2 separate regions of the Homo sapiens genome follow, and region 2 is linked to region 1. The links are contacts of gene promoters, found by promoter capture Hi-C in blood cells and fetal thymus (Javierre and others, 2016). All regions are on one chromosome and are shown on one strand. The core of a region is centred on a gene start or on the middle of the fragment in contact, and the rest is flanking DNA. Distances in the headings are between cores, read along the strand shown.

The links. The method cuts DNA at HindIII sites, captures the fragments that hold promoters and counts their contacts. A CHiCAGO score of 5 or more calls a contact.
Region 2: a contact is called between a fragment that was not itself captured here and the fragment with the promoter of FSD1L in region 1, in 1 of 17 cell types (total CD8 T cells). The highest score is 5.8, in total CD8 T cells.

The regions. Positions count from the first base shown.
Region 1 is chr9:105,446,549-105,450,456 of GRCh38, forward strand. It overlaps FSD1L (fibronectin type III and SPRY domain containing 1 like), which reads left to right and starts at 1,486. Exons shown (of 14, transcript NM_001145313.3): 1 at 1,486-1,687. The coding sequence starts at 1,673. RefSeq lists a silencer at 1,367-1,976. The HindIII fragment of the contact is 4,464 bases long and covers 412-3,908 here.
Region 2 is chr9:104,890,433-104,894,329 of GRCh38, forward strand. All of the region lies in intron 2 of ABCA1 (ATP binding cassette subfamily A member 1), which reads right to left. Among named protein-coding and RNA genes, the nearest start is that of ABCA1, 36 kb to the right of the region's middle. The HindIII fragment of the contact is 452 bases long and covers 2,154-2,605 here.

The DNA of each region.
Region 1 (3,908 bases), core at 236-2,735:
TCTGTAGAGATGGGGTTTTGCCATGTTGCCCAGGCTGGTCTCGAACTCCTGGACTCAAGTGATCCACTCATTGGGCCTCCCAAAGTGTTGGGATTACAGGTGTGAGCCACCATGCCTGGCCTAAGTTTTAATTTTAGCACCTATAACCGTCTAGCACGTTAACTTTTTTTTTTTTTTTGGTTGGTCTTCTATACTAGATTGTAAGCTCTGTGAGAGAAACAGGGCCTTGCCCACTACTGAATTTTGTTTGTAGAACTGGTACAGAATAGGTACTCAATATGTATTTCCCTTTTATTCATTCATCATAAATGACTGTCTAATTGAACTTTTGTGAGCCTCTCCAGAGTCATCCAAATGGAAGATGAGGCCTGTCTGCTTGAGGAAGAACTTTCTCAAGCCTACTAAATTCCAAGCTTTCTAAAATCTTCATTGATGCCTCAGGCCACACCGAGCAGGTTCTAACTCCCCACTAAGAATGACTATAATGGGCCTGGCACATGCCCTGTAACCCACACCTGTAATCCTAGCAATTTGGGAGGCTGAGGTGGGCGGACTGCCTGAGCTTAGGAGTTCGAGACCATCCTAAGCAACATGGCTAGAACCAGTCTCCGCTAAAAGTACAAAAAATTAGCCAGGTGTGGTGGGGGCGCCTGTAATCCCAGCTACTCATGAGGCTGAGGCACGAGAATTCCTGGAACCCGGGAGGCAGAGGTTGCAGTGAGCCAAGATGGCACCACTGCACTCCAGCCTCGGTGACAGACCGAGACTCCATCTCCAAAAAAAAAAAAAAAAAAAAAAAAAGAGAATGACTATAATTTATTCACTACTAATTATGTACCATACGTTATTTAATCCTCACAATCCTCTGCAAAGTCCGCATTATTTCTCTCATTTTACAGATGAAACAAGCTCAGGCAGACTGACTTGCTCAAAATCATACAGGTAGCGAGGTGCCGGGGAGGATGGGTGGGTCCCCGGGAAAAACTGTGCCAGGCCCCAAAGCTCATATTAATCCCACACCCACGTTTCCGCCACTCTCATCCCTATATCCCTCCTCCCACGTTTCCACCACATCCCCTAAAGGTCTTTTCCCACGTTTTCGCTACATCCCCACCCCAGCCCTTTTCCTCCCTTTGGACCGCTGGGTCCGCTCAAGCCTGGCTGCCCCTCGAAGGATAGTGTGGGGAGGGGCTTCAGATGCGTGCTGGGTGGAGGGTGGGCTAATCCGTCTCCAGCACCAGATACTCTTTCCTTCCCGGGCCCTCCGCACCGGCCGGCTGCTGGATGCCCAGTGGCCTATTTCAGGGCCGGAGAGACCGCTATCGCTGGAGGAAAAAGGATGGGGGAAGGGAGTGCAGCCTGCAGAGGCACTAGCGGTAGACAGACGGGCGGCGCTCCCCACCCTCCACGGCTACTTCCCGGGAGCAGTCAGCCGCTGCGCGCAGGCGCGGTGCGCTCCTCAGCCCCTCCCTTCTGCGGGCCGCCCTTTCACCCTGGCAACCGCGGCGTGACTACGGCGCGCGCGGTCTGGGCGCGGACGGGTGGGGCCGGGCGGTGCCGGTGCGGGCTGGGGCAGTGCAGTGAGTAGCGGTCTTGGGGTGTGCGATCTCGCTGAGCCTCCTCACACGGTTCGTCGTCTCGGGTTCGAGCCCAGTGGGCTTAGCCACTCGCCATGGACTCCCAGAAAGTAAGCGGGGGAGGGGAGCCCGGGGCTACCGAGACAAGCCGGGCCGGCACAGGGTGGGCGGGGCGCCTGGGCCCGTGGGCTGTGGGTGCGCGGGGTGGGCCTGGCCGGGCGTCCGGGCTGCTGCTGCGGAGGGCAAGGCCGCCCGGCCGCTCTCTGGGCGGGAGCTAAGAGGCGCCCACACGGATGCGGGGACCGCGCCCGGTGACTCGGGCTGGCCTCTGCTCTGCGCGCTGTCCGGGGCCCTGACTCTGGAGGAGAAACGGAGCCATCCCCCTTTTAAAATCAGCCACTCTGCAGCGCTTTAGGCCGGTTTTCATGCCTGCAGACTGCGAGCGTGCTGGTGGGGGTGTATCCCTCCTCAGCAGGTGAGGAAACCGAGGCACAGCCTTTTTGGTGTCTCCCTGCTGACGCCGAAAGCTGGGGCTTTCTCCTCGACCAAGTCTCGTCTCAGCACCACGCTCTTTAGGTCAGGGACCGAATCTCCTTTGTACCGCCCACCGCTCCCCTTCCCATGACTTTTCCTAAGTAGATCTTAGTGTTTAGTGTTCGTTGAATGGAGGGAAAAGACTTCAATTGTTAGGGCAGCCTTCCCACTCTCTGACCAGTTGGTGTTGCTGGGCACAGTTACTTAGGGGTCGTTGTGGAATGTTTTATACTTTCCGAACAGTTGAGGAAAGGTTATATAATCGTAAAGGTTCAATTCAGAAGTATTTGGAGAACAAAGCCAATGTCTTGAATACAGTTAGAAGTGAATTATTCAGTCATAATCTCCATATGAAAATAACCACCCTGTTCTCTTTGTTAGACTATAACGTAATTGAAATATAGTACAGGGTAGGAAAGAAAAAACAAGGAGTATTAATAATGTAGCAGGGAAAACAAAGACATATCTAAGAGACTATTCTTTTCTATTATTAGAAAGCACGGGAAAGACTTAGAACAACGTTTTCTACAATTTTGTCTACATTCACCTTCTTGAGGATCACTTCACTGAGGGCATGAGAGAATAATGATGTGTTGAGCATTGACTATTACAGTATTTAACAAATATGCATATGATTTCATTGTATGTGTTGGTCTTGAAACTCACCTTGGAATGCATGACTATTCTTAAGGCATTTTTTAAAAATTAGATTTTGTGTATTTTGAGTATGTATAGGTTTAAAATATTGTCTCTGCCTAAATTTGTAAAACATCTCTCAGCTTATTAGATAAAAGAAATGATATTTGAATGGACATTAGCAGAGGTCAAGTGAAGGAGCAAAGTCCGGAGACATGGGTTCCAGGATGCTATTTACTAGCTCTGTGATAAGGAGCAAGTCACTTAACTGTGATTAATCTGTTTCCTCATCTATGCAGTAGAAGTAAGAGTATTTTATAGTGTCATAGTAAAAATCTGATAAAATAGTTTGTTCTGAAAACACAGCATTTTAAAGTTTACAAAGTATGACCACTAAAATACTGTGTCCCATAAAATACAAAAAAATGTGTTTTAATATTGATCATCATACTTTATCAGGGATGCATTATTCCTTACTTTAATGAGTTGTGACTCCTGGAAGGTCATGCTACTAGCCCTAAGGCTAAGATTTGAACCTATTTGTTCTCATTTCGAATGATGTGTTAGGGTACCTACAGGTTACCACGTGCAGTTTCCTGAGAGGTAGCAAAGAATTAGCTTCTCTTTCTTAGTAGTAGTAGTAATGTATCTTATTTGTGATATCTTTGAGAATCAACTTCTCAATATTAGAAAATATGTTGAATTTCATTGGTGGTACCAAATCTTTCTAATGAAAAAACAAACACCCTTTGGTTTATAGCTGTAAAAAGAATGTCCGGGATTAATGTGTATAACCAGTTCAGTGCTCTGAACCTGAGCTTCCTTTTCTCGTATGAATTCCTGCAGAATCACAAGCCTCAAATAGTAATGATCTAAGCTGGATATTGTTCTCTTTAAATAAGACAGTAGTACACCCCAGACATGATTTTTAGATACTATTTTCTGTTATGGAATGTACATTGAAAATAGTAGTAGGGGTAGTACCTCAGTCAGTAGAGTATAAGAAAAATAGGTACTGCAAAGTGTGAGGAAGGCCTGAATATATACCTGAATGTTTGTTAGGCATTGGGATTTGGGCTTTACATTAGTAAGAGGATGGCTCTGGAGCCAAGTCTCCAGTTCTACTATTTATAAGCTGTATGAGCTGGGATAGTTTGCTCT
Region 2 (3,897 bases), core at 1,130-3,629, 560 kb before region 1:
TAGCTGGGCATAGTGGTGGGTGCATGGAATCCCAGGTACTTGGGAGGCTGAGGCAAGAGAATCGCTTGAACCCAGGAGGCAGAGGTTGCGGTGAGCTGAGATTGTGCCACTGTACTCCAGCTGGGGCAACAGAGAGAGACTCCGTCTCAAAAACAAACAAAAAAAAAAAGCAAAGATTTTTTTTTTTGAGACAGGGTCTTGCTCCATCGTCCAGGCGGTACGATCCGGAGATCATAGCTCACTGGAACGTCAAACTCTTGGGTTCAAGTGATCCTCTCCCCTAGGGCTCCCAAACTGCTGGGATTACAGGCGTGAGCCACTGCACTGAGCCAAAGCAGAAATTTTTTCTTGATCTTCAAGTCCTTATATTTTTATGGAAAATTTGAAAATAAAAAAATACAGAAAAGTTTAAAAAGGTAAATATAAATCACCTTAATCCTACCTCCCAGAGACAATCCCTAGTAAACTGAAGTAACAATGGATCTCTGTTAACATCTTTTGTCTTTTTTCATGCATACATAAATAATATTTTTTCTCTACAATATTGAGACTATGCAGCATATATACTTTTGTATTCTGTTTTTTCATTTAACATCATACTGGGAGAGCATTTCCCATGACATAAAATATAATCTTAAAACATGTCCTGTAATGTCTACTTGATATTCCACTCTATGAATAGATCATAATTGAACCTTTCTGCTAGGTGCTCGTGCTTCAGATTGTTTTGGGTGTTTTTATTTATTTATTTATTTGTTGTTTTATTTCTGATATTTTTAAAAAACTGTTTTTTATTTCCAAAGACCTTTGATATGGTTCTACATTAAACTCTTTTAAAAAATCTTTTTGGCGATGGATGCAGTGGCTCATGCCTGTAATCACTTTGTGAGGCCAAGGCAGGCGGATCACCTGAGGTCAGGAGTTGGAGACCAGCCTGGCCAACATGGTGAAACCCCATCTCTACTAAAAATACAAAATTTTAGTGAAACGCTGTGTCTACTAAAAATACAAAAATTAGATGGGCATGGGGGTGTATGCCTGTAATCCCAGCTACTTGGGAGGCCAAGGCAAGAGAATCACTTGAACCCAGGAGGCTAAGGCAGGAGAATCACTCGAACCCAGAAGGCCTAGGTTGCAGTGAGCCGAGATCACTGCATGATCACGCCACTGCATGATCAGAGTGAGACTGGGCAGAAGGAAATACAGCAAGATAATGACAGTGGATGTACTAGGATGATAAGAACGTAGGTGTGGCTGGCGCAGTGGCTCCTGCCTATAATCCCAGAACTTTGCGAGGCCAAGGCAGGCGGATCACCTGAGGTCAGGAGTTTGAGACCAGCCTGGCCAACATGGTGAAACCCCATCTCTACTAAAAATACAAAATTAGCCGGGCGTGGTGGTGCATGCCTGTACTCCCAGCTACTTGGGAGGCTGAGGCAGGAGAATCACTTAAACCTGGGAAGCGGAGGTTGCTGTGAGCTGAGATCACGCCACTGCACTCCGGCCTGGGCGACAGAGCAAGACTCTGTCTCTTAAAAAAAAAAAAAAAAAAAAAAAAAAAAAAGTGATGTTTTTAATACTTTCCTGTCTTTTCTAAATTTTCCACAATGAGCATGTATAAATTATCTCATGGAACAAAAAAACACTGTTACCATAAAACTATCAAGAATAGTTTGCATAGACGGCACAACAGAATGAAAAATAAAGGCAAATGGATCCCTCTCTGGAAGAAAGCATGCTGACAGTGGAGTACTCAAGACCAAAGATGGGGCTGGTCTTGCTAATATTTCTGTAAATAATCCCAAAGAGGCAACATACTCAAATTTCCAAGCTTGGGAATGACATTCAGCCTTTTCTTTTTTTTTAATAGCAAACACCTTTTTATTCTGTAGCTTATTTTTTAAGTTGAGATATACATATATATCACATTGCATATCTTAAAGATATACAATTTTTATTTGTCAATTATACCTCAATAAAGCTGGGGGTGGGGGTGGGGAAGAAAGCAATTTTCTTTCTGCCAAAGAACAAAACCATGACTCTATGAAAATGAACTTTTCTCCCAGCTGAGCCAGGACTCCCTCATCTCAATTTCCCCAGGTACTTTGTGTCTGTATCAGCACTTGGTACACCAGGGACCCTATTTATATATAAGCTTCTCCCTTAGGGTCACTTTCTTCTTACTAAGCCTACCACATGATAATGGCTTTAAAAATGTTTGGTGAGTAAATGAGCTGGTTTAAAAGATAATGAACACGGAAATATAAATCAGTTGAGCCCTTTGGGAAAGCAATGTTAACAATACGTATTCAAGAGTCATGTTTATCCCATTTGCCCAATTACTATTCCTGGAAATTCATCCTAGGAAACTGAACTTAAGATATCAAAAAGCTATATGCATAAAGTTATTCATTCATTGAAACATTATAATTGCAAAATATTGGAAACAACTTAATTGCATAGCAATAGGGAAATGATTCAATTATGGTACATGTACTCAACAATATATCATGCCATCATCAGAATAATGTTTATGAAACACAGAAATCATTAGCCATGTAATATTAAGTGAAAAAAGCAGAATACAAAATTATATGCCATTCCAAGCTTGTAGCTGAATAAAATCACTTATAAATATTAACAAAGACAGGAATACAACTTTCCTTTTAAATGGCATGACTGTAAATAAATTTAGAAAATACTTATGAGGCCGGGCGTGGTGGCTCACACCTGTAATCCCAGCACTTTGGGAGGCTGAGGTGGGTTGATCATGAGGTCAGGAGTTCAAGACCAGCCTGGTCAAAAGGGTGAAACCCCATCTCTACTGAAAATACAAAAAAATAGCTGGGCATGGTGGCGGGAGCCTGTAATCCCAGCTACTCGGGAGGCTGAGGCAGGAGAACTGTTTGAACCCAGGAGACAGAGGTTGGGGTGAGCCAAGATCGCTCCATTGCACTCCAGCCTGGGCAACAGAGTGAGACTTCACCTCAAAAAAAAAAAAAAAAAAAAAAAAAAAAAAAGAAAAGAAAATACTAATGAAATTAGGGGAAAAAAATGAAGCTAAACAAAGAGTATGAGTAAGATAAATAGCCATCAGCCTTGAAGCTCTGAAACTACCATTTGTACTTTAAGGATAAATAGTAGCTACTGTTTATTTAGGGCCCAATATGTACAAGGCACATTTTATATTAATTACTTAATTTAATCCTCAGGACAACCCTGTGAGATAGGAAACATTATTGTCTTGATTTTATATGTAGCAAGGCTAAGGCTGGAGGAAGGGTAAATCACAGAGATAGTCAGTAGCGGGGTTGAGATGAGCAGCCAATTCTACCCAACTCAGGAGGCCACATGACATTCTATTTGACACCACGGGTGACTCAGGTAGGAAATGGCCCCACTAGGTGGAATGGTCTAGAAATATCAACAGGATCCAGAGAGGTAAAATTAATTCACAGCTTGTAGATTTATAATACTTACAGCCAATATTGGGCAGCTACTGTGTACTCAAGACGTTTTGTGTATCTCATCTCCAGTATTTAATTCATAATAACCCTGTGAGGTAGGTTGTATCATTACCGTTTTAGAAGTGAAGAAACTGAGGTTTGAACAAGTTACGAGCCATAAGAAACTGCACCAATGTTTGAACCCAGATCTACTGACACTTAAGTGTGTGCTTTTGTACCCATCATGCTGCCATCACAAAGCTATGTTTAGGACATATACCTTTTAAGATATGCCACTTAAAAGAAACCTAGCACTTGCCAGCCCTGCTGAGCACTGATCTGACCCAATTAATCAAGGCTTATGTTCCTGGATATCTCTGCAGCCCCCATATCTAGGATCCTGTAGGGCAGCAGATGCTCAAAATATGTTGGTTGACTGAAAAAAATGAAT